Regions from separate parts of the Homo sapiens genome. Here all the other regions are linked to region 3. Evidence: promoter capture Hi-C in 16 types of primary human blood cells and fetal thymus (Javierre and others, 2016). All regions are on one chromosome and are shown on one strand. Each heading gives the region's core, a stretch centred on a gene start or on the middle of the fragment in contact. The rest is flanking DNA. Distances are from core to core; before and after follow the strand shown.

What was found. Contacts are between HindIII fragments. The CHiCAGO score rates a contact against its expected background, and 5 or more counts as called.
Region 1: a contact is called between the fragment with the promoter of CORO1C here and the fragment with the promoter of PWP1 in region 3, in 1 of 17 cell types (naive CD4 T cells). The highest score is 5.3, in naive CD4 T cells.
Region 2: a contact is called between the fragment with the promoter of ACACB here and the fragment with the promoter of PWP1 in region 3, in 1 of 17 cell types (total B cells). The highest score is 6.4, in total B cells.
Region 4: a contact is called between a fragment that was not itself captured here and the fragment with the promoter of PWP1 in region 3, in 4 of 17 cell types (naive CD4 T cells, fetal thymus, total CD8 T cells and 1 more). The highest score is 10.6, in naive CD4 T cells.
Region 5: a fragment that was not itself captured here is called in contact with the fragment with the promoter of PWP1 in region 3 in 1 of 17 cell types (total CD8 T cells); the score reaches 6.3 in total CD8 T cells.
Region 6: a fragment that was not itself captured here is called in contact with the fragment with the promoter of PWP1 in region 3 in 1 of 17 cell types (fetal thymus); the score reaches 5.8 in fetal thymus.

The regions. Positions count from the first base shown.
Region 1 is chr12:108,729,860-108,733,934 of GRCh38, reverse strand. It overlaps CORO1C (coronin 1C), which reads left to right and starts at 2,417. Exons shown (of 11, transcript NM_014325.4): 1 at 2,417-2,506. It overlaps LOC105369969 (a long non-coding RNA gene), which reads right to left and starts at 526. Exons shown (of 3, transcript XR_945328.4): 1 at 483-526. RefSeq lists an enhancer at 1,743-2,546 and silencers at 2,159-2,668, 2,859-3,138. The HindIII fragment of the contact is 3,828 bases long and covers 1,207-4,075 here.
Region 2 is chr12:109,114,115-109,117,966 of GRCh38, reverse strand. It overlaps ACACB (acetyl-CoA carboxylase beta), which reads right to left and starts at 1,380. Exons shown (of 53, transcript NM_001093.4): 1 at 1,263-1,380. The HindIII fragment of the contact is 11,769 bases long and covers 1-3,852 here.
Region 3 is chr12:107,683,030-107,687,048 of GRCh38, reverse strand. PWP1 (PWP1 homolog, endonuclein) reads right to left here and starts at 1,250. Exons shown (of 15, transcript NM_007062.3): 1 at 1,078-1,250. The coding sequence starts at 1,149. RefSeq lists enhancers at 912-961, 1,182-1,441 and a silencer at 3,871-4,019. The HindIII fragment of the contact is 3,419 bases long and covers 1-1,594 here.
Region 4 is chr12:109,097,746-109,101,908 of GRCh38, reverse strand. It overlaps UNG (uracil DNA glycosylase), which reads right to left. Exons shown (of 7, transcript NM_080911.3): 1 at 4,098-4,163; 2 at 3,271-3,477; 3 at 2,625-2,720; 4 at 1-7. Among named protein-coding and RNA genes, the nearest start is that of UNG, 2.2 kb to the right of the region's middle. RefSeq lists a silencer at 3,744-4,133. The HindIII fragment of the contact is 1,375 bases long and covers 1,416-2,790 here.
Region 5 is chr12:106,359,850-106,363,669 of GRCh38, reverse strand. All of the region lies in intron 1 of POLR3B (RNA polymerase III subunit B), which reads right to left. Among named protein-coding and RNA genes, the nearest start is that of POLR3B, 4.0 kb to the right of the region's middle. The HindIII fragment of the contact is 1,854 bases long and covers 1,117-2,970 here.
Region 6 is chr12:106,295,143-106,299,217 of GRCh38, reverse strand. It overlaps a transcript of TCP11L2 not described here. Among named protein-coding and RNA genes, the nearest start is that of TCP11L2, 5.6 kb to the left of the region's middle. The HindIII fragment of the contact is 4,525 bases long and covers 1-4,075 here.

The DNA.
Region 1 (4,075 bases), core at 1,168-3,667, 1.0 Mb before region 3:
AGAATAAGCTAGCTTACTCCGTGGTTTCCAGTTGGAACTCGGCCGGACGCGGTGGCTCACGCCTGTAATCCCAGCACTTTGGGAGGCCGAGGCGGGTGGATTACAAGGTCAGGAGATCGAGACCATCCTGGCTAACATGGTGAAACCCCGTCTCTACTAAAAATACAAAAAATAAGCCGGGCGTGGTGGCGGGTGCCTGTAGTCCCAGCTACTCGGGAGGCTGAGGCAGGAGAATGGCGTGAACCTGGGAGGCGGAGCTTGCAGTGAGCTGAGATCGCGCCACTGTACTCCAGCCTGGGCGACAGAGCAAGACTCCGTCTCAAAAAAAAAGGAACTCAAAGCACTTTACCAATCTTCATTTTCCCCAAAGCACTCAGAACTCACTGCTATCAATGCCCCTGTTTAATTTATTAACTAGTGGATTTTAAAAAAACAACTTTTATTGTTCAAAACTATTGAATTGTGGGCACAGTGGCTCATACCTGTAATCCCAACACTTTGGGAGGCCGAGGTGGGAGGATCTCTTGAGCTCAGGAGTTTGAGGCCAGCCTGGGCAACATAGCAGGACTTCATCTCTACAGAAAAATGTTAAGAATTTAGCTGGGCATGGTGGCGCGTGCCTGTAGTCTCAGCTACGTGGGAGGCTGAGGTGGGAGGATTACTTGAGCCCGGGAGGTCCATGCTGCAGTGAGCCGTGGACTGCCCCACTGCACTCCAGCCTGAGCGACAGAGCAAGACTGTGTCTCAAACAAACAAAAACAAGTGAATTGTTTTTGAGCCTCACCATATGGCAGGCACTGCAGTAGGCGTTTCATCACGTTTATCTCATTTAAATAAAGTGAGTGGCAAATCTTACTGCAGGAAGGGTGCTGAATTCCTCCTATTAGGAGTGGCTGCTTGAAGGCAAAATAAAACCCATCCTTTCATTTTGTTGAGTCCCAGCAGTAGCAGCAACAGGTACTGTCGAGCGTTTATCACAAGCCAGGAACTCTTCTAAGTATATTACTATTATCCTGGTGCAAAAGTAATCGCGGTTTTTGCCATTCCTTTTAATGGCAAAAAGTAATGCCACGATCATGGCTGCTAATATGATCTCATGGAACCCTGTGAGGGAGGGGCTGTTATCCCCATTTTACAGATAAAGAAACTGACCCTTAGAGAGGATAAATAATTTGCTGTGATAGCTGTCTTAGTTCAGGTCAAGCTTGATTTAAATAACACACGTTTCTGAGGCTGACGCTTAAAATAAAAAATCCCCCTGTGAATGGCAAAGATGCCTTGCTTTGGGAAGTAAATAGCCCTACCCCACAGTCGGTTCGGTTCCCCAGGCTCTGTTTCCTCAAATCTCGGTATTTCAGAGCTTGGTGTTTCAGAAAGGGACTTTAGCTATTAACAGGACAACTTCTTCATGCTGAAGATTAGGGGACTCAGGCCCAAAGAGGTAAGAGAACTGTCCCAGGTCACACAGTCTGACGGCCGCAGAGCTGAGGCTCAAATTCCCGTGCTCCGACTTTCAGGCCTGGGCCGCCGAGTTATTAAGGGACTCTGGCCAGGGAAAGGAAGGGAGGAACCCTGAAGTTTCCATTCCCTCACCTGCGAAATGGGGTCAATCACGGGCCCTCTTTGGGGTTACGTGGGTGTGGCCCAGCCCAGGGGCGGCCACTCTGCACTAGGAATGTGACAATGGACGGTTCAGGGAGGGCTGGAACGTCGGCAGTCCTCAAGGGAGGTGGTGGTAGGGTGTGACGGAGCCAGGGCGGAGCCTCGGGAGCCAGAGGCGTGGATTCGCGAATTCGGGGCGGGGCTTGGGGTTTAAACGTTGAGATGGGGTAGTGGGCGGGGCTTGAGATGCTAGGAATAGGGTTGCGGTCCTTGGGCGGGGCTTCTGGAAGACGGGGCGGGGCTTTGTGAGGCCGCTGGGCGAGTTCTGAAGCAGTGGGAGGGGAGCCGGGCTTAGGGAAGCAGGAGGCTGGTTTAAGGACTCGGATAGGCAGTGCGCGGGGCTCAGAGGAGCTAATGTTCCTGTATTGAGGGGCTCTGGGGGAATCTTTGAGGAGCCAGGGGACGTGGCCTTGCAGAGCCTAGCGGGTCAGTGGGCGGGGCTCTAAGAACCCCGCTCCGGGGTCTAAGGAGCAGTGGGCGTTGCTCGGAGGCGCCTGTGGGCGTGGCCCTCTACCACTCAGATGACTGGAGAGCGGGGCGTGCGCTTGGGCACCGCCTGCATCCCTCGGTGCGACCAGAGGGGGCGTAGCGAGGCGTGGAACGTGGGGTGGGAAGCGGGCTTCCCCTCCGGAAGTGGGCGTGGCGCACAGCGGCCCGGCAGCCCTGGTTGGGTCCCGCGCGGCGCGGGGGCGGGGCCTACGCGCGGTGGCGGGGGCGGTGGCGGCTGCCCGCGCCCCTCCCCCGCACGGCGCTCAGTGCCAGGCTGGAGGCGGCAGCGGTTGGAGGCTTCGCCCGGCTTTGCAGCGGGGACTTCGGCGGCGGCGCCTCAGGCACCTCGGCCCGGGTGAGCGGCTCGCGCCCGGCGGGGGCAGCCTGAGAGCGAGTCGGGCGGGCGGACCTGTCCTCTGAGCATGTGCCTGCGCCGCCTGACAGGAGCCGGCGGGGCGAGGGGCAGGGCTAGGTGGAGGGGACAGTGCTGGGTGGGCGCGCGGGGCGCGGGTTCACGGGCTGGGTTGCAAGGGGTTAGGGCCGGGGGCTGCTGTCGGGGGCTCGGGGAAAGGGAGTTGGGGACCGAACCAGGTGGCGTGGGGAGCGTGAAGCAGGGTCCCTGTGGGGAGGAGGCTTTCGAGGTCCGGAACGCTCCTGGCCGGGTGCGGAGCCGCGGGCCGAGGTGGGACGAGGCTGCCCAGGGAAGGCTTTTAGGGGTCAGGGATCGCCTGCTTGGGCGAGGTGCTGGGAGGGAAGGGCTGCTTCGGGCGAGGCGTAGAGCCCGGGGGCTCCAGGCCTGGGGACTGGGTTTGGGCCGCCCCAGGGAACGAGTGGGTGGGGGCGGGTAGGGGCCGGGCTCACGTGGGGCCGGGGCGAGCTGGGCCCTGCGTCGGGAGGGGCGAGGGCGGCCGCCTGGCCTGCGGGTTTCCTGGCTTTGGGTGCGAGACCAGCTCTGGGCCCTGCAGATCTCGGTTGGGGGTCAGGCGGGGCGGGGCAGAGCTGGAGCTGGAGTAATGTGGGTGGGGGCGGCTTGGGAAGAGGCTGAGCCCGGCCAAGGGAGCAGAGGGCTGGGACTGGCTGGGGGTTGGGAGGGGAGGAACGAAGCAGGAAGGCTGTCGGATCGGGGGCCCAGGGTGTCCGAGTGAACTGGGTGATTCAGAGGTGTGTTTCCCTAATAGCGGGGCAGCTGGCGAGGGACGCAGTAAAAAGGAGCGAGGTGCAGGTGGGGCCCCGCTGCGCCGAAATGACTGAGGATGAGGTCAGACGTGGAGGGTGGGAATGCAGAAACCGAGCTCTCCCGCCTGTCCCCACCGGCGCACGCTCCCCAGCTCTCCGTCTCTCAAATGATTTGAATGTGTTGGGGGAAGTGGCAGGCTGCGGTGAGAGCTGAGAAGAAAGGGGCTTCCTCTTGGAGGGAGGCGCTGGCCCTGGCATCCTTTTTTGGGAGTGTTCAAAGGATTTTGAACGCTGGAAAAGGAATCGTAGGCTTTACTGCATCACGATTTAGAAACACATCCTATATTTGGCCGTAATGTAGGCTGCCCTTGTTTTGTGGTGTCTAAAGTGCTTGCTCTACATGTTGCAAACGTGGGATTCAGAGTGCGAAGCAAATTGCAAGTTGTTCATTTCCCCCGGCATGGTAAGATACAAAGGCTTTTCCCTCCTATAAGACATTTGAAAAGAATTGAATGTAGTGCGCGTTTAATAAACTGGTCCTGGGTGGCGAATATATTTACTTTTGGAAATAGTTACCACAAAATATTAGGCCCTCTTACCGCAGCCTTTCTGCCTGGGATTACATTCTAAAACAGTACTTGTAGGGCTCTTAGTCACTCTATATAATAATGCATCTCATTGTCCTTATCTGGCAGAACGTTCTCCTGACACCAGGGCCTGCTGGAATAGACAGAAACATGATTAAGTA
Region 2 (3,852 bases), core at 131-2,630, 1.4 Mb before region 3:
ACCATCCTGGCTAACACAGTGAAACCCTGTCTCTACTAAAAATACAAAAAAAATTAGCCGGGCGTGGTAGTGGGTGCCTGTAGTCCCAGCTACTTGGGAGGCTGAGGCAGGAGAATGGCGTGAACCCAGGAGGCGGAGCTTGCAGTGAGCACTCCATCTCAAATAATAATGATAATAATAATATCTTCACCTTTCAGTTTTTAAATTGCAAGTCCCATGTCCCGGGAATTCCCCGGTCCTGGGCAAAGTGGGATGGTTGGTCACCCAACCTATATGGATGCCCATTGATATTAAAAAATAAAAGTAATCACAATAGACATGAGGGAGAGAGTTGTGTACAGTGTGAGTGTACAGAATAAAAGGTCTGGGGGGTTTATACCAAAATGTGCACAGTGGCTACCTGGAGGAGGAGGGTTAGACAGGAATAACAGCAAGGAGACTTTTGCACGGTGCTGAGTGACTTTTTAACTTGCATATTATTTTGGAATGCATTTTTTCAACATTGAAAGAAAGTCATGTCTTCCTAGAAATATAGGATATAGGACCACTACAAACGCTTTACTCTTAGTCTCCTTTTTTTCTTTTTCTTTTCTTTTTTTTTTTTTTTGAGACAGAGTCTTGCTCTGTCAGTCAGGCTGGAATGCAGTGGCGCAATTTTAGCTCACTGCAACCCCCACCTCCTGGGTTCAAGCGATTCTCCTGCCTCAGCCTCCCAAGTAGCTGGGATTACAGGTGCCCATCACCACATCTGGCTAATTTTTATGTGTTTAGTACAGATGGGGTTTCGCCATGTTGGCCAGGCTGGTCTCGAACTCCTGACCTCAAGTGATCCACCTGCCTCTGCCTCCCAAGGTGCTGGGTGGCATGAGCCACCGTGCCCAGCCTTAGTCTGCTTTAAAAAAAAAAAAAAAAAAAAAAAGAACAACCATTTGAGGAAACAGAAACAGAATACTATTCCTTAAGACAGTAGCTTTGGAGGCAAAAAACAGAATTGTTTATAAAACGTTGTGGAACTTATATGGGAGCATGTCCAGGGATCCACACCACCATTTATAGAAGCAAAGAAAGGCCCTTCTCTTTCATCTGCGTTACATTTCGAGCTCTTCTGATTAGCTTCCTTCAAACATGACGGGAGTCGTTTTTCCCCGGGGACCCCAAGTGCATGCCTTCAGACAGGGTCTGCTCTCACTATACATTGGGTTCGAATTTACCTGGACGTTGGCAGAATGGTCCGGACCCCGGGGAGGGGCGAGCTGACTTACCACTTTATTCCTGCCGCTTTTCTCTTGCCATGTCCTCCCCACCGTGCATTCAGGGTTACATTTTCCAGGTTCCTTGTTTGCTGAGGGCCTGAATCTAAGCCTGCTAGCTGCTTACTCTGGGGACTGCAAATGTCACTTTTAGATTAATCAGCCCCTGCTGTTTAAAAATATCCCTGGAGCACTTAACCTTCAAAGCAGCAACAACCCGGGGCAAAGATGAGAAAGATCCCACGTCAAACCACTTGTGCAGCCCTGGCTACTCCTGGGAGAGTTCTGCTATCTGCCTTTTAATCCCATAACTCGCTTTATTTCATAATTCTTAGCTGTTGAAGCCATGAGGCATCTAAAGTCCATGTTGTCGTAAGCAGTAGGCAGAAAGTCATCTGGGCCCTCCTGTGACATGCTGAAAATTAACTGCCTACAGGTGTTGGTCATTTGAGAAACAAGCCCCCATTGAAAACCGTGAATGGGAAGGTGATCGCTATCAGGTCACCTGGCTTCTCTCCCCTGAAAAGATTTGGCGAAACCCTCTCAAATCACGCCACTTAATGGAATGTTTCCAATTTCTTGTGACTTGGGGATAAAAGAAAAAAACAGCTCCATTGCCACATTCTCATTCAGGGTTGACTGGCTCTTGCTAGGGTTGAGCACAGAAGAGGAAATTCAGCACACGCTGCAGTTACATAGTGTTCTGCAACGTGGGGAGGGCTGGCATGTGGGACAAAGGTCGCCTCCAAGGCCCAGCTGGAGAAGCCCAGCCAACTAGGCAGCAGGAAAGTGGAGACCACATAGGAGCACATTGTGCTCAGGCAACAGGGAAGGTGGAACCCACTTCCTGCCAACAATGATGGCCTTACTAAACAGCAAGTGGAGAAACTGGCGAGAGCGCTGAGCACGGGATCTGTGCAAAATGGTTTAAATGGAAATTGCTGCTGGGGCTGGTGCAGCCTGTTCACAGCTACTTTGTTTCTGGGCTTATTTTGCAATAAGGAACAGTCATTGAATATTGGACTTCTTGGGATTTTCTCCACTGGACTTGGAAGCATGTGCTCTGGAAACCTCAGCATTATCAGCTGTAACCCCACAGCACCAGGTACATGTTACAGGAACCGGGGTGAAGGAATGCAGGTCAAATGCCTGCACAATGCCCGGCCCGAGTCATATGTTCTCTAGCCACAGTAGCCCTTGTGATGGCTCTTAGTCTATTTATTAAGACAATAAAAGAGGTGACTCTCAAACAAACCTATGTTTCCAGGGAGAGCCATCTGTGATTCAAGGACATTTTTATAAAATTCCATTGAAAAAAATTCTTAGGCTTCTAACTTCATGAAAAAAAAATTCTTTCCCAGTGATTCCAAATAATCATGATCTAGGCAGGGTGTTGACAGTGGCAGGACTATTAGGCTTTGAAATCAAGCTGATGTGGGTTTGAATCCTCCCTCCATTAGCCATGACTTTGAGCAAATGGCTGAGCTTCAGTGTCCTCATCAACTACTTCACCATATGGGTGAGAAAATGAAATGATTTATATTGAGTTTCTGGCACAGGGGCTTGCTCATGACAAGCACTTAATATCTTTCTAATGAAATTCATTACTTGCAAAAAGACTAGACATACCCACACATACAGGTGAAGAACTCTGCAGTGATTCAGTTCTCCCTAGACACTATCTCTTTAAGACACAGGTATTTTCCAGAATATAATTGGAAGGCTTGAAACCAAAGTTATTCATAAACTCTTTCCATCAAACACAAGAACGGTAATAGAAATATATTTCTTCAAACAGCTGTTAGTTTCAGAAAGTCACAGGTATCAAGTTACATTTTTTGTTTTGTTTTGTTTTGTTTTAGAAATAGGATCTTGCTCTGTTGCCCAGGCTGGATGGAGTGCAGTGGCATGATCATAGCTCACTGCAGCCTCGAACTCCTGGGCTCAAATGATCCTCCTGCCTCAGCTTCCCAAGTAGCTAGAACTACAGGCACACACCACCCCTGGCTAATTAAAAAAAAAAAAATTTTTTTTTTTTAAAGACAAGGTCTCATTATGTTGCCCAAGTTGGTCTTGAACTCCTGGCCTAAAGCGATCTTCTTGCCTTGCCTCCTAAAGCACTGGGATTACAGGTATGAGCCACTGTACCTGGCCCAAAAAAAATTATTAAGTGACCACATGGTCTAACAAAACAAGGCACCTGGAAAGAAATCACCAGTCCTGCTGCAAACCGGACCCTCTGTGAGAATTCACATGCCTTCCCCCACCAATTAAATCAGAATTTCCAGGGATGGGGTCTGGCTTTGCATGTTTTAGCTTCTCTAGGCTGGAGGAGCACTAGCTTCTTGTTGGAAGGCTCCCTACCTTCCTCTCCCACACCCTCACCCCAAACATCATTAAGAGAGACAAAAGAACATGCTATATACACAACTAACAAGCAGAGAACATAAATTATTGATCTCCTGGTCTGCTCCGCTCACCAATATTTATATTTCCAAGCATATTTCAAAAACTTAAAAACTGGTTCCCTAGCCTGGGCAACTTAGCAAGACCCCATTTCTATTAAAAACTTAGCCAGGTATGGTGGTGCATACCAGTGGTC
Region 3 (4,019 bases), core at 1-2,500:
ATACTATATGTGCACATGTCGACTCCATAAAGGCAGGGTCTTTTTCTATTTTTTTTTTTTTTTTTTTTTTTTTTTTTTTGAGACGGAGTCTCACTCTGTTGCCCGCCCAGGCTGGAGTGCAGCTGTGCGATCTCGGCTCACTGCAAGCTCCGCCTCCCGGGTTCACGCCATTCTCCTGCCTCAGCCTCCCGAGTAGCTGGGACTACAGGCATCCACCACCACACCCGGCTAATTTTTTGTATTTTTAGTAGAGACGGGGTTTCACCGTGTTAGCCAGGATGCTCTCGATCTCCTGACCTCGTGATCCGCCCGCCTTGGCCTCCCAAAGTGCTGGGATTACAGGCGTGAGCCACCGCGCCCGGCGGGACTTTTTCTATTTTGTTCATGCCTATCCCAGGACCCTGAACAATGCCTGGCCTACAGAAAGCACTTAGTATCCAATGAGGAAATTACTTAAGTAATCGTCACCTCTGCTACAGTCTCAGTCTCCAACTCTTGTAGGTTTTTCATGTGTTAGACATTTACCTCTCATCCTCCCTGCTACCATCAACATCTCACTTGGATTACTGCAAGAAATTCCCTATTCATCTCCCAGCCTCACGACATCTTAGCCTCCACACCAGTTTTTCTACACCACATTCATCCTCACTCCTTCAGACACGGAGCACAAGAGTGGAAAGTGGAGTTTTCATGCTCTCTTCCCAGTTATGCTTGAAAATGCACTTGGGTGCTAGTGAAGCTAGTGGTGTTGTCAAAAAGCCTTTTGGGGTATTACCCACCAAAAACAGCAGCCCACCCCTTTCCGGCCCGCTAAGTCCATGTGCGTGCGAATTTGGGAGTGGGGTTGGGCTTGAGGGTGGGAACAGTGAGAAGGCGCGGCCCTTGACTCTCCAGGCTCAGGCGAACCAGACCTTCTGAACTGCAGCTCTAGTCGCGACAATCCGGGCAAAGCCGCCCTCACCCCAGCCAGTCGCACCAGCCAACGCCCCGAGTTCCGGGTCCACGTTCCCCCAGCTGGGCGGACCCCCAGTGCCGTAAAGACGCTGCTCCCCTTGTCTCCCAGCGACCAGGCCTCACCTTGTCTGGTGTCTCTTTGGCCACGCCGCAGCGGACCCAGGCCACGCACGTCACCTGGCGGCTGCGGTTCATGGTCCTCAAGTCAAGGGCGTGTCACGCTAGAAACCAGGCTGCATAGGGAGGGACCACGACCGCACTGCTGCCACACGCTCAGGGATCTGCACAGGGCCGCTGCCAGGGCAGAGCGCATGCGCAGGCTCCTGTTTGGGCAGCGTCGGCGCTCATTTCAGACGTCATTCTGAGGCGCCGAATGAGAAATAGGAGGGGACAAAATGGAAGCGGAAGCAGCCGGGCGAGGAATCCACGTGGGCTGGTCTGGGCTGTGTGAAGTATAGAGAAAAGGCTTTTCAGGACTGCATGTGACGATGCCTGCGGGCTTTGTAAAGGCCAAGAAAATATTTGGGACTGTAGGGGTCAGTCAGAAGCAAAGTTTCACCAATCTTTATTTTGCTTGCAGTTCCGTAGACTTCAAGCTGACAAATGGCAGAGGTTTGTGGTTTGCGTTTTTTAAAAAGCTTTCTCCAAAATGAATTTGTCGTTTCACGGAGATCCCACCATTACATCTCATTACATCCCTAAATGTTACTTTCTCACCTTAAAACATTTAGCACCAAAAAAAAAAGTGAGAAAAAAACATTTAGCACCAATTATATACTAACTATGCAGTAGTGATTTAGTCTTGGCAAACACAAAGGGCTTACTTATGTTGAAGGCGCTGTTTTGAGTGCCGTATCACGTGATTACTTACCCCTTTGTGGGAGGTCTTATTTCCGTTTTACACCTGGGAAAACAGCGATCCTTCCAAAGGTCACACTGCTAGTAAGCGGTGCAGCTGGGATATGAACCCGGGCAGTGTGACTCCCTTGTATCTATGTCATGCTTCTCAGCTAAGATCAGTCATCTGTTAGAACTCGTGAGTGGCTGGACGTTTGTAGAATGGAAAATCTCAAACTAGCATCCCAGAAAAATCTGGGTTTTGATCTCTTGGCTGTGTGGCCCTGTCCTGGTCATTTACCCTCAATGCATCTACCTCTGAGAGAGGCAAGCAAAAGAAACAGGAAGGTGGCTGCTATGGGGAAACAGTGGCAAGGATAAACTGGCAGTACACATGGTCTTTCCCAGTGGCATTGTCAAACGGGGGGTGTCCACCTGTGGGCTCTATTCGGGGACCTTTTTGCAACACATTTATCTTTCTATACAGTATTTTACTTGGTTCTCACAACACTTTGTTTTAAAGATGAAGCTAGAGTCCCCAGTAGTCAAATACTTTCCTACTCAGATCACACACAGAGGAGCTGATACAACTATGAGTTCTGTCACCAACTCTACTCAGCCTAATGCGCTTGGCAATCTCCCTGCCTGAGGAGAGATCCTCCCAGAAGTAAATTGCTCATTGTTTGTGTAGGCAGATTATTTGTCCATTAAGACTTCTCCCCCTGCTCTGTTTCTGTAAGATGATTCTTCTGTGGTTTCTTTGCTTTTAACCCATTTTAGAAAGACCATATGGCAGATAATATTTTTCAAGGATGGCTGCAACAATAGAGTCCTTCACACATGTTTGTCTGCAACGTGATCTTGATATTCCTCCATCAAAGCACCCCCCCCCGCCCCCACCAACTTGAATCTGGGTAGTTGTAGGTCTGCTTTGGCCAATAAAGTATGACAGAAATGATGTTTCCAAGGTTAAGTCATAAATAGGATGCAGGTTTTGCTTCCCCACCACCACACCCACTTCTCCACTTCCACACCCCCCACCCACTCCCCCACTGCCCACCAGTAGAACACTAATGTTTGGAGCCCTGAGCCACCATATAAAGTTTGGCTACTGTGGTAGTCTGTTCTCACACTGCTAATAAAGACATACCCAAGACATGATAATTTATAAAGAAAAAGAGGTTTAATGGACTCACAGTTTCAGTTGGCTGGGGAAGCCTCACAATCACTGCAGAAGGCAAAAGAGAAGAAAGGCATGTCTTACATGGCAGCAGGCAAGAAGAGAGCATGTGCAGGGGAACTCCCCTTTATAAAACTATCAGATCTCAGCTGGGTGCAGTGGCTCATGCCTGTAATCCCAGCACTTTGGGAGGCCGAGGCAGTTGGATTACAAGGTCAGGAGTTCTAGACAAGCCTGGCCAACGTAGTGAAACCCCGTCTCTACTAAAAATATAAAACTTAGCCGGGCATGGTGGTGCATACCTGTAGTCTCAGCTACTTGGGAGGCTGAGGCAGGAGAATCACCTGAACCCAGGAGGCGGAGGTTGCAGTAAGCCGAAATCGCACTGCTGCACTCCAGCCCGGGCAACAGATCAAGACTCTGTCTCAAAAAATAAAAATAAATAAAAATAAATTAATTAATTAATAAAACCATCAGATCTCATGAGACTTATTATCATGAGAAAAGCACAGGAAAACGCCGCCCGTATGATTCAATTACCTCTCACTGGGTCCCTCCTATAACACATGGGGATTATGACAATTCAAGGTGAGATTTGGGTAAGGACACAGATCCCAAACCATATCAGCTACCCTGAGTCCACTATGCTGTTAGGAAACCAAACCACATGGAGAGACCACATGTGGTACTCCAGTAGACAGTTGTAGTTTTTGAGTTAACCCAGACCTGTAAATGAAAGTGCCTTTAGGTGAATCCAGCTCCCAGACATTGATTCACTCCCAGCGTTTGAGCTTGCTCAGCTGAGACCCAGCCATCATGGAACAGAGACAAGACATCCCCACTGTGCCCTGCCCAAATTTCTGACCCCCAGAATTTGTGAGCTTAGTAAAAGATTGTTTCTAACCACTAACTTTAAAAGAAAAAATCCTTCCATAATTTTTATTATAGTAAAATATACATAACACAAAATTTGCCATTTTTAAAAAGAGACAGATTTAGGGTGGGCTCCGTGGCTCGGCCTAAATCCACTTTGCCCTCCTTTGAGAGG
Region 4 (4,163 bases), core at 854-3,353, 1.4 Mb before region 3:
CCTTCACCTGTGAACCACCAGGGGTCAGGAATTAAACAATACTGTAATGTAAGCAGCACAGACCCTGCCTCAAACAAACATAAACAAAACAAATAAAACACTTCTATGGCATAGATTGCTAATAGCAGAGTTGCTGGTCAAAGGCTAAGCGTATTTTAAACTTGTAAAGATATGTACCTAGCTGCTTTTTTAATTTTTTGAGACACGGTTTTGCTGTGTTGCTCAGGCTGATGTGCAGTGGTGCCATCACAGCTCATGGCAGCCTCGCCCTCCTGGGCTCAAGTGGTCCTCCCACCTGAGCCTCCAGAGTAGCTGGGCCCACAGGAGTGCACCACTATGCCCACCTAATTTTTTTTTTACTTTTTGTAGACACACGGCCTCCCTTATGTTGCTGAGGCTGGTCTCAAATTCCTGAGATCAAGGGATCCTCCCTCCTCGGCCTCCCAAAATGCTGGGATTACAGGCATGAGCCACTGTGCCTAGCCCCCAGTTACTTTTCGATGAATTAAAGCAATTTAGGGCCTGGCATGGTGGCTCACGCCTGTAATCCCAGCACTTTGGGAGGCCGAGGTAGGCAGATCACGAGGTCAAGATATCGAAACCATCTGGCCAACATGGTGAAACCCCATCTCTACTAAAAATACAAAAATTAGCTGGGTGTGGTGGCGCACACCTGTAGTCCCAGCTACTCGGGAGGCTGAGGCAGGAGAATCGCTTGAACCCAGGGGGTGGAGGTTGCAGTAAGCCGAGATTGCACCACTGCACTCCATCTCAAAAAAAAAAAAAAAAAAAAAAAAAAAAAGCAATTCAGATTTCCCACCAGCAGCATATGAGGGTGTCTGCTCCCCTATATCCTCTAACAGGTGGAGCCAGAAGAGAATGAGGTCAGATCAAAAGGGCCATGGGAGTAGGTGGCAAGAGACAATGAAATGAAATGAAGTTCCTGTCACGGGAGGTGTTGAAACATAGGCCGCCTCGTCCTTCCCATCCAGGGCCCACCCACCTAGTCTTCATTCTCAAGCTTCTGCCATTGCGTTCTTAGAATCTTCCTCCACAGCTGACATACTCTATCTTTCAGAATCCAGCTCCAGATGTTCCATGACCAGGAGGCTTTTGGGGACCTCTTGTCCCTCCCCTTGGTGTTCACACCATGCCAACATATTCTCTTGTGAAACAACTCTCCCAATGCTGGTCTGTCAAGAAGCCCTGCTGGCCCATCTGATCCTCATAGGTTTGAAACTGGTTTTTGAGCATTCCCTCAAAATATTCCTTTTAATATTCCCTGTTTATACTGATTACTGGTATTCAGAATAGGGCATTCAAACAAGAAGCAAATTAGTATTGATCTTAATAGGATTTAATTTAGCTTCAAAACCAAAGAGCTAGATTCTAAATTCTTACTCTAAAATTAAGCTTACGAGATTTTCTAAGTATTAGGTGTGGCTGCCTTATCAAGATGATTTATTCACCTATTTCACTTCTATGTCATTTCACAGATATTCATTAAATCACAAGATTCTTGCCCCAGTTTACAAAACGGGGGAGGAAAACGGGTAAGAAACCTAAAAGTCCAGTGTCAGCAGGTGCTAAATGCATCGTAGCAGCTCAGAGGAAAACTGGATCACAGAGGTGGCAGGCAACGGACTTCAATTCAAGGAGGTGCCACAGAGGCATCTACTTGATTTTTAAGAGACAGAAGTGGGGAGGGGTTTGCCACACTGTCCAACTCTGGAGTGGGAGAGTGGGAGGTGGAGGTAAGGCTGAGAGGTAGGACGTGGCCCTATTTAAAGAGGGTTGCTCTGCTTTCATAGTTCAACAGTGAGAAGCCACGGTTTTTTTTTTGTTTTGAGACAGGGTCTGGCTCTGTCGCCCACGCTGGAGTGAAGTGGTGTGATCTCAGCTCACTGCAACCTCCGCCTCCTGGGCTCATGCGATTCTCCCACCTCAGCCTCCCAAGTAGCTGGAATTACAGGCGTGCGCCACCATGCCCGGCTAATTTTTGTATTTTAGGAGAGACCAGGTTTCATTGGTCTTGAACTCCTGACCTCAAATGATCCTCCCACTTTGGCCTCCGAAAGTGCTGGGATTACAGGCATGAGCCACCGTGCCCAGCCCCACGAACTTCTGAACACAAGATGGATGAGAGCCGCCAACCAGCAACTGTTATATAAGACAAACTAAAGCAAAGGGATCTGATAACAGAACCACAAAACTGTTCAGGCCAGAAGTCAAGAGCTTGAAAGTGCTAACTATAAGGCAGTGTGGTCAGGTCAAGGTGGGGTTGACTATAACAAGCTGCAAAAGATTTAACTGCTTTGTGTGTCAGTTTGAACTTCACCACCACCATAACATCTGACACCGCGGGAGGTTAGTTTCAGGATTTAAAAAAAATACAAGAAATAAGAGCACAGGATGTACATAGTTTTCCTTTTTGCCACATAAATACCACGTGGTAAACATTAAAAAGAGTAAATACAGGCTGAAATACAGTCAGCCAAACCTCGGGATTTCAGTGTTTTATTTACTACTGAATGATGGACTGTGGCTTAACTCCAGTGTCCCTAATTTAAAAATACTATTTGACTCCTTCTCCCCAATAAAAATTATCAACAAGTTGTACTTACATCTTTTATGTCACACATCTGGGTCCAGGTGAAGACTTGGTGTGGGGGTGGATAAACAGTGTAATGCTTTCTTTCTTCTGCAACAAATCCCATTAGCTGATTTAAAGATAAACTAGACTTAAAATCAGATTCTCATTGGAAACCATAAGAATTCAATAAGAAAGCTTCTAGTGCAAGTTATTTGGAACATCATTAGTTCTTTGTCATGTTATGTCCAAATTCTTTTAAAAAACAACAAACAAAAACAGTGCCTGCCCCCCCACCTAAGTGGTTCAATCAGGTCAATTCCTTGCCTCTTTCTCTGGGCTGGGTCCTGACAGTGCCACTCCTCTCGGCTTTTTAAAGCTCAAGCCAGGTTTCATTCAGGATGGTTGGTGATTTTACTACGCCAGCCTTTCCTGGACAATAGACTATGTGACTTAAATGAATCCATGATATCATCTCGCGGGTCGTTAACAACTTTAACCAATATAAAGCTGCAGAGTGAAACATCATGGCTTTCTTTTACCCCCTTTGTGAGTAAAGGAGGTTGAAGGGGGTACAACCTAAGCCTACGGAAACATGAACTTGGCCGGCTACACTAACAAGACAAAAGGGCCGGCAGCCTCCACATTTACCCTTATGGAAGGTGCATTTCCATATTTACCTTGATAAAATACGGTTTCCCGAACTCCCCGCTGAGGTGCTTCTTCCAGCTCTCTCCAAAGCCCACGGGCACGTTGCGGGCCGCGAGTCTGAGCAGGGCCGCGGCCTTGTTCCTCTGGATCCGGTCCAACTGCTCGGCACTCAGCGGCGAGGAGGGCGGCGTCCCAGGCTCCTCCTGCCCAGCCGGGGCCTTCTTGGCTGGGATGGCCTGCAAGTGGTCCCCGCAGAGGCGGCTCAAGAGCTGCAGCGGCCCCTTCCCAGGCGTCCGCAGCTTCCGGCCCAACCCCCACGGCCCAAGGCAGAAGACGCCCATTTGTGGAACAGGTCCCAGCAAAAGCGGACAGTAAGAGCCCAGGGCTGGGCCCGGTCCGGGAATTGGGAATTAGGTTCTAAACTGGAGCGGGGAGACGGGCTGGGAGGCGCCCTATGGCTTCCCGAGGAGCGTCGCGGTGACTGGGAACCCTGCACAGAGGTGCCCCGCCCCCGCCAGACCCGCCCCACCGCGTCCCCACGTGGTCTTTTCGCGGCAAAAAACCTCCCTCTGGGTCCCGCCCCCTCTCCCCTCTGATTGGACAGCGCACCGAGCCAGGAGGGCCTGCGGCGCGCGGATTGGCGCCATGGGCCCCGAGACGCGTTCCCATTGGCTGGCCCTTTAGCATGGCGGCCCATGGGGGACAGCGGCGGCTATTTTGAACACGTGGAGGCTATTTGGAAAGCGGAGCCCGGGTTTACCGAGTCAGAGGCGCGATCCTGCACGCCCTCCGTCAGGCGGGGCCCACCGCCTTCCTCCCCCTTCACCCCCTAGCCCCGGCCCAAGCCGCGCCTCACCGCCGCATCTCCGCTTTCCTCAGGCACCCCAGCCACGCCGGTCCCCTGGACGGCCGGCTCGGGGCT
Region 5 (3,820 bases), core at 794-3,293, 1.3 Mb after region 3:
ACAGAATATAACTTAATCTCTTCCTGATGACTCAAGATTTTAAGCACTTTTCAATCCTTTATTTTATTCTCATGACACTTCCTAAGTGAAGTTTGCCAGTTTGAGAAAAGGAAAATAAGGCTCAGAGAGTCTGGTGGGAGAGCTGGGTCTCAAGACCCAAAGGGAGTTCTTTCTCCCTCCCATTCTCTCTCAACTACTGTCTGGTCAGAGCTCATCTCAGGGCTACAGAAGGATGACACATATGGTGATTGCTTCCTACATTGCCTGAGCAACTAGAGGGATAGAGTTAAAATTGATGGAGGCGAGGAACATTGTAGGAATAGCAGGTTTAGGTGTGGAGGGGCTACTAGAAATTTGGTTTGGGTGTGTTAAGCTTGAGATCTCCATTAGACATTCAGGTGGAAATGTCAAGGAGGCAACAAATGAGTCTTGAATTCGGGAATGGAGTGGCCTGGAGATATAAACTAGGAAGAGATTAACAAGTGGATGGCAATTAAAGGCACGTGATGGATGAGATCACCTATGGAATGTAGATGGAGAAGAGTTCCACAAAGTGAGACCAACCAAGAATAATCCAACAATCAGAGAGGAGGAGCAGGAGGCAGCTCCAGCAAAGGAGACCGAGGAGTGGCCAGGGAAGGTGGCAGACCCCTGGGTATAGTCAAAAACAAGAGAGGCAGGCAAAGCTAATCTATGATGACGGAAATCAAAAGGTGCTTGGGGGGATAGACTGAAAAGGGTCATAAGGGAACTTTCTGGGGTGATGCAATGTCCACATAGAGCACATAACTATAAAACCAATGTAACTGAATATCTAGTATCCATACATTTTATTATATAAATTACACCTAAATTTAAAAATAGAAGAATGACAATGATATAGGTTGAATTGTGTCCCTCTCAAAATTCATATGCTAAAGTCCTAATCCCCAGTATCTCAGAATGTGACTGTTTTTGAAGATGGGGTCTTGACAAAGGTGATTAAGTAAAATGAGTCATTAAGGTGAGCCCTAATCCAATACAACTGGTGTCCTTATAAAAAAGGAGAAATTGGACATAGAGATGCACACAGGGACAATGCCATGTGAAGATGAAGGTAGAGGTCTCAGTGAAGCTTCTGCAAGCCAAGGGATGCCAAAGATTGCCAGCAAACACCTGTAGTAGGGGACGGCCCAGAGCAGATCCTCTCTCATAGCCCTCAGAAGGAGCCAGCTCTGTTGTCACCCTGATCTCAGACTTCTAACTTCCAGAACTATGAGAAAACAAATTTCTGTTGTTTAAGCCACCTAGTTTGTGGTTACTTTGTTACGGCAGCCCTATGAGCTAATACTCCCACATCTTCAAATTCCTCTCTCTACACCCCTTCTTATACTCGTTTCCTCCCACTTCAAAGGAAGGACCATCCATTCCTTGGTCTAAGGCTAACCCTTCCGCCACAGACACAATCCTGCCAACCTTCTCCTGAAGACTGGAAACCTTGCCCCAGTTCAGTCCTTGATATTCAACCTGTTCTATTTAAAACGAGTATTCAAATCCTCCCATTAAAAAAAAAATTTAAAACTTTCTTGACTCAGCAGCTCCTCTGACTACTTTCTTCCCTGCCCTTCAGCTTACGATCTCTCCCAAATTACTCCATATTTAGCTTCTCTGTTCCTCACTTCCCACTCCTTCATTCCGTTATAGTCAGGACTCTGACCTACCTGCCAGTGAAAGAGCTCGACAGAGGTCACCAAGGCTGCTACTTCAAAAGACCTCCCTTGATGCCCCCTCACATTCCCTTTCCACAGTATTTGGCCATGCCGATCACTGTCTTATAACACTCTGTGGTATCATTCTCTTATGTCTTTCCTTCCTCCGGCCGGGCCTTGTCACACCTCTTTTTCTCTGCCACCCTGCAAATTTTGGTGTTCTTCAAAGTTCTATCCCTGGCGATGTCTTTTCTCAAGTAGGGCTGGGAATGGAGGATTTCAAACAACACTGTTTGAAAGTGTTGTTTAGCTTCCCCCATCTCATCCCACAGCCCCCCAGTTCCAAATGTGGGCTCTTTCAAGGGCAGTGACCCTGTCTATCCTGTTACCACAGTGCCTGGCACATAAAAGACTCCAATAAATACTGAATAAATAAATGAGTGAGTGAATATCACTGTTGCAGTAAGCTACTGGGTATGGGCCTGTCCCCTCCAACTATTGACTGGGCAGTGATACCTTACAGCCTCAGAGGCTACTTAAGATCAGTATGTCCAAAATTAAATCTTCCCCCAGCTCCATTCTCAATCTCAATGAATATCACCATTTATCCCAGTCAATCCCAAATTAGATACCCGGGAGTCCTAACTTTCTGACTCTTCTTAATCAACAGGAAAACAAAAATTCTACTGAGTCGACCTCCTTTTAACCTTCCTCGCATTTATCCTCTGCTCCTGTGCCAGTTGAGGCCCTCATAATCTTTCAGCTGGTCTGCGGCAATACTTCCTTACTACTCTTCCTGCTCGTCCCTTTCAATGCTCAGCACTAAAGCCAGTGTACATGTCCTCATGTGCACAGCTGAGCACCTCATTCTCTACAACTCTTCAGTGCCTCCCCACCCTCTTCACCATGTCTTAACTCCACAGCGAGGCATACATCATATGCTGTGCTTGCAGCTGTACTTGTGCCTACGCCTCCTCCTTCTATCTGGAATGCTTCCGCACCACCACACTTCATCCACATCTGGCAAACTCAGTTCAGGCATCACATCCTAGCTACCATTTGTAATACCAAAATACCCCTCGCCTACTTGTATCACAGTACCTATTGCATGTTATTCCACTTGCTTACACGTCTCTCTCTATAAGCCTATAACACACTGGGAGGCAGAAAACACATTTTTTGAACTTGTATAAACCCTGTGAATAATACACCACCAGGTAAGTACTCAGTAACACTGACAAATATTTATTCAACAAGTAACTGATTAATTGGCTCCAAAGCTTGTGTTGTTTCTACCATACTACCATGCTGCTGTGCTACCATAAGCACAAAAAAATACACACCAGGCATGGCCAGTTCAAGTAAAACTGAGCTCCTAACTAGAAAAAGTTGCAGCGAAAACACTGAAGTTGGAAAGTTTAAGTAAATATTTTAATATCTCAATTTAAAAGGAAATGGCAGCAAGTAGCAGAGATCTACCATCTTCTGGGAGAATCAGGAAAGGCCTTCCTAGGGAAGTTATATTATAGATATGTGGGATTTAATCTACAAATAGGAAGGGGAGAGCGATCCAGAAGAAACTGAGCAGAGTAGAAAGATCTCAGGGGAGGGAGAGGGGGGAACCATGGGAAAAGAGACTAGAGAAGTAAGCACTGGTCAGACTGAGGAAATTTATTACAAACATGGTAAACACTAGATTTTGCCCTAAGAGCAATAGGCAGAGATTGAAGAACTTTAACCAAGGGAGCAACATAACCATGTTTGTGTGTTTAAACGGACAGCTCTGGCTGCAGAGCAAGGAACAGACTGGATTGGGACAAGTCAGGTGCCAGGTAGGCCAGTTAGGAAGTAAGAGAGGACAGTCGTTCTGGGCTGGAAAACGGTGGGAATGAAGTTTCAGATATGCATAGATTAAGAACTCAGGACTTTTTAGAGGTGATGGTGGATTGGATACAGAGTGCAGGAAGAGGAACTGTTATTCTTCAATCAGAAGGCTGGAATTATAGCACTGTTCACTTCATAGCTGTGTAAATTCAGATAAGAAATAGAAATCTCCCAGGCTTATTTCTTCAGCTCTCTGGAGAAGCGGTCCGATAGCAGTTAGGGATGAAGACTCGAGTCAGACTGACAAG
Region 6 (4,075 bases), core at 611-3,110, 1.4 Mb after region 3:
CACTGCACTTTGACCTCATGGTCTTCCTTAAGAGCCTAACCCCTCCTGTAAGATGTGACTCCATTGTAATTGAAAAAAACAAAAACAAAAAGCAAAAAAATGGGCTGGGCATGGTGGCTCAGGCCTGTAATCTCAGCACTTTGGGAGGCTGAGGTGGGTGGATCACCTGAAGTCATGAGTTCGAGACCAGCCTGACCAACATAGTGAAACCCTGTCTCTACTAAATACAAAAAATTAGCCAGGCATGGTGTGCATACCTCTAATCCCAAATACTTGGGAGGCTGAGGCAGGAGAATCACTTGAACCCAGGAGGCAGAGGTTGCAGTGAGCCAGGATTGCACCATTGCACTCCGGCCTGGGCAACAAGAGTGAAACCTGGTCTCACAAAAAAAAATGGCCGGGCATGGTGGTTCACACCTATAATCCCAGCAGTTTGGGAGGCCGAGGCAGGTGGATAACTTGAGGTCAGGAGTTTGAGACCAGCCTGACCAACATGGCAAAACCTCATCTCTACTAAAAATACAAAAAATTAGTTGGGCGTGGTGGCACACACCTGTAATCCCAGCTACTTGGGAGGCTGAGGCAGGAGAATTGCTTGAACCTGGGGGGCGGAGGTTGCAGTGAGCTGAGATTTCACCACTGCACTCCAGCCTGGGCAACAGAGCGAGACTTTGTCTCAAAAAAAATTTTAAACTAAAAATTAAATTAAAAAAAATGTTTTTCAAAGGAATCCCACTTCTTTTCTCTCCCCTGTCCATCTTCAGGTGCTACAGAAAGGGCCAAAAATCAGTGAGGGGGAAAATACAATAGAAAGCAAAAAGAAGAAAATGAATTTGGCTAATACACCAACTAGAGAATTAGGCCCTGAATGTTCAAAAATTAACTGCATACCTCCTACTCAATTTTACTGTGAGCTCTAAAAATAAGGTCTATTAAAAAAAATTAACCACACCTTTTAGGCAATTTTTTTTTGTTCTATATCCTGTGATTTGGAAGATAAGGTAGATTTAGATAATTGACCAGTTTTGACTATTAATTGATGCTTGAACAATTTTCCAAAGCACCAAAACCAGTTTTCTTTTGACTCCACTGAACTGAATTAGTAAAAAAATTAACAGTTATTTCTCATTTCAATTGCCTGTACCTTCACATTTAGGCACTGCCCAGTCCCTGACCCTGTCACATACTAAAAAGACAAATATTCTTAGTGCTCCCTACACCCCACCCTGGGCCCCTTCCTCTTACCTGGGCACCACTGTTGTCCCCTGGGAAGCAGAAAGAGTGAGAACCAGCAGTGAAGACAACTTTGGGGCAGGAAGTGGGAGGGGCCAAAGAGAGTTGAAGCTCAAAGGAACACCTATGGGAGGCCAAACAGGTGATGGCTCAGACCTCTGACCAAGCCAGTCACTCTCTTTAGCTCATCTCCAGGCCAGCAGGCAATCAACCATTTTCTAAATGATTGCTTTTCTAAAGTGTTCATGGATGAACACAGGCCCTCAGTTTTAAAATCAAATGAAATTGTCAAATGGGCATGAGGAAGAGCTACTAAAATAAGATGCAATCTCCAGAAAACATAAAGGAAGGATTAAGAAATGTGACTTTTTAGGTACACGATTCAACATGAAAACATGAGTTACAGAACACTGATTATGGGGTGACACGATTTATGCTAGAGAGAGCTTACACTAGAGACAGTACATATGCATTGTGTGTATATGAAATACATAGAAATGGACTAAAAAGAATCTCAACCGTTTAGAAGGCTATTTAGGCAAGTTAGTTCCTGGTTTATTCCGTACACATTCAAGCAGCTTATTTCTTTTACAATGAGAATGTCATTCATATATTACTAGTCTATTTCACACTGCCATACAATGCAACTATTCTTATTATTGTATGTCCTCCTAAATATACCTTAGTGAAGATAGGCTATTGATACTGCACAATAAGCAAATTTCCCATCTCTTTTTTATTCATATTTAAGAAAGCCATGACAACAAATGGAGCTTTTCATGTAAAATATATGAAAGAATAGATTTACAAAAAGTCCCTCACTATGATATGTCAAAATTATTAATGCTGGGTGGGGGAATATTGATCTTTACTTTTTAAGTTCTTCTCCTCAAGCCCTATTCTTCGATAGCCAAAGTGCATGGAGTTTGCTTTCATTTTAAACATGTTTTTTGCCCCAAACTCTGACCTCTAAAACCTTCCCTTTCTTTGATGATAAACTGGACAAATGTCCTTTCTCAAAGTTATATGGGACTTTAATAATTATACTACCTTTTTTTTGTTGTTTCTTTTTTTTGAGACAGAGTCTCACTCTGTCAGCCAGATTGGAGTTCAGTGGCATGATCTCGGCTCACTGCAACCTCTGCCTCCCGAGCTCAGGCGATTCTTTTGCCTTAGCCTCCTGAGTAGCTGGAATCACAGATGTGTGCCATCACGCCTGGCTAATATTTTGTATTTTTAGTAGAGATGGGGTTTCACCATGTTGGCTAGGCTGGTCTCGAACTCCTGACCTCAAGTGATCCACCCCTTGGCCTCCCAAAGTGCTGGGATTACAGGCATCAGCCACCACACCCAGCCGTACATTTTGAAGACAAAAAAATTGAGAGCTCTGAACATTCAAATGCCTGAATAGTAGCTTTTACCTGAGTTCCTGGGCATTCTAGAGGAAGGTCATATACTAGGGCACTAAGGGTTTATGTTGACTAAAGGGATACTCAGCAGTGACTCACTCAGTTGGCAGGTCAAGAATAGAAACCAGAAGAACTCACTTCATGGCTTCTCTCCGCAAATACACACATATACACGTGCAGTGTCACATGCAAAGTATTACCTATTGGCATAATTATCTAATTTCCATAACAACATATCAACAAGCATACCAGCTCTGTACCAACTAAGTGCCCAAAGTATTTATAATCACATTCCATTACTCTAGAAGGGTGCCTGGACCAGATACTGGGGTGGCTGTGCCTTCTAGAAAGCAAGAATGGAATGCAGCTTTATACAAAAATATGAAGCTGTTTACATAGATATATATTCACCCGCACACATGCACACACGAAACATTTCTGGCCAATTCCCTCAGAGGGATCCCAAGCCATGCCATTGTTTATGTTACATGTACATCTGCATGTATATTATCAGTAAATTCCCACAAAGCTCAGTATAGGCTGGGCGCAGTGGCTCATTCCTGTAATCCCAGCATTTTGGGAGGCCGAGGTGGGCGGATCAACTGAGGTCAGGAGTTCAAGACCAGCCTGGTCAGCATGGTGAAACCCCGTCTCTATTAAAAATACAAAAAATTAGCTGGGCGTGGTGGCGCACTCCTGTAGTCCCAGCTATTTGGGAGGCTGAGGCAGGAGAATCACTTGAACCCAGGAGGCAGAGGCTGCAGTGAGCCAAGATCACGCCACTACACTTTTGCCTGGGTGGCAGAGTGAAACTCAGTCTAAAAAAAAAAAAATGCTCGGTGTAACATAATTATACAAATAAATTTAATTTTAATGCTGAAGCTGAATTCTTTATTTAAAGGAAGACCTCTGTGATGATATGTGGACGTTTAAAAAAATGACTTTTTAAAAGTTACAAGCATTACGTAGATCAAAATTTTCAAAGAATTAATCAACTGAGGTACAAAATAATTGTATATAATGAGGAAATGTGGTATGGTGGAAAGAGGGTGGGCTTTGGGTTCAGACAGACCAGAGGGTTGACAGCCAAGTTCCACCACTCATTATACATATGTCCTTATCCTCACAGGTATAAAATGGGGATAATAATGTTGTGGGGGCCATTTGTCATTTTGGTGATCCAGCTTTCCGAATGGTATTTGAATTGTTATCATTTATTATAGAAGCCAGAGAGGGGATGATATGCTAATCCCATTAATACTTTACTACTGGAGCTGGAAAGGCATTCTGTCTTCCCAGACCCTGGTGGCTGTAGCATGGGCATGGGACCTACGCATGTTCTGTCAGATGCTGACCACCACAGGTAGATAGGGGTGATTCACAGAGCTACAGTGGTGGTGCCCAATGCTGATGACACCAGCTATGGCATCCTT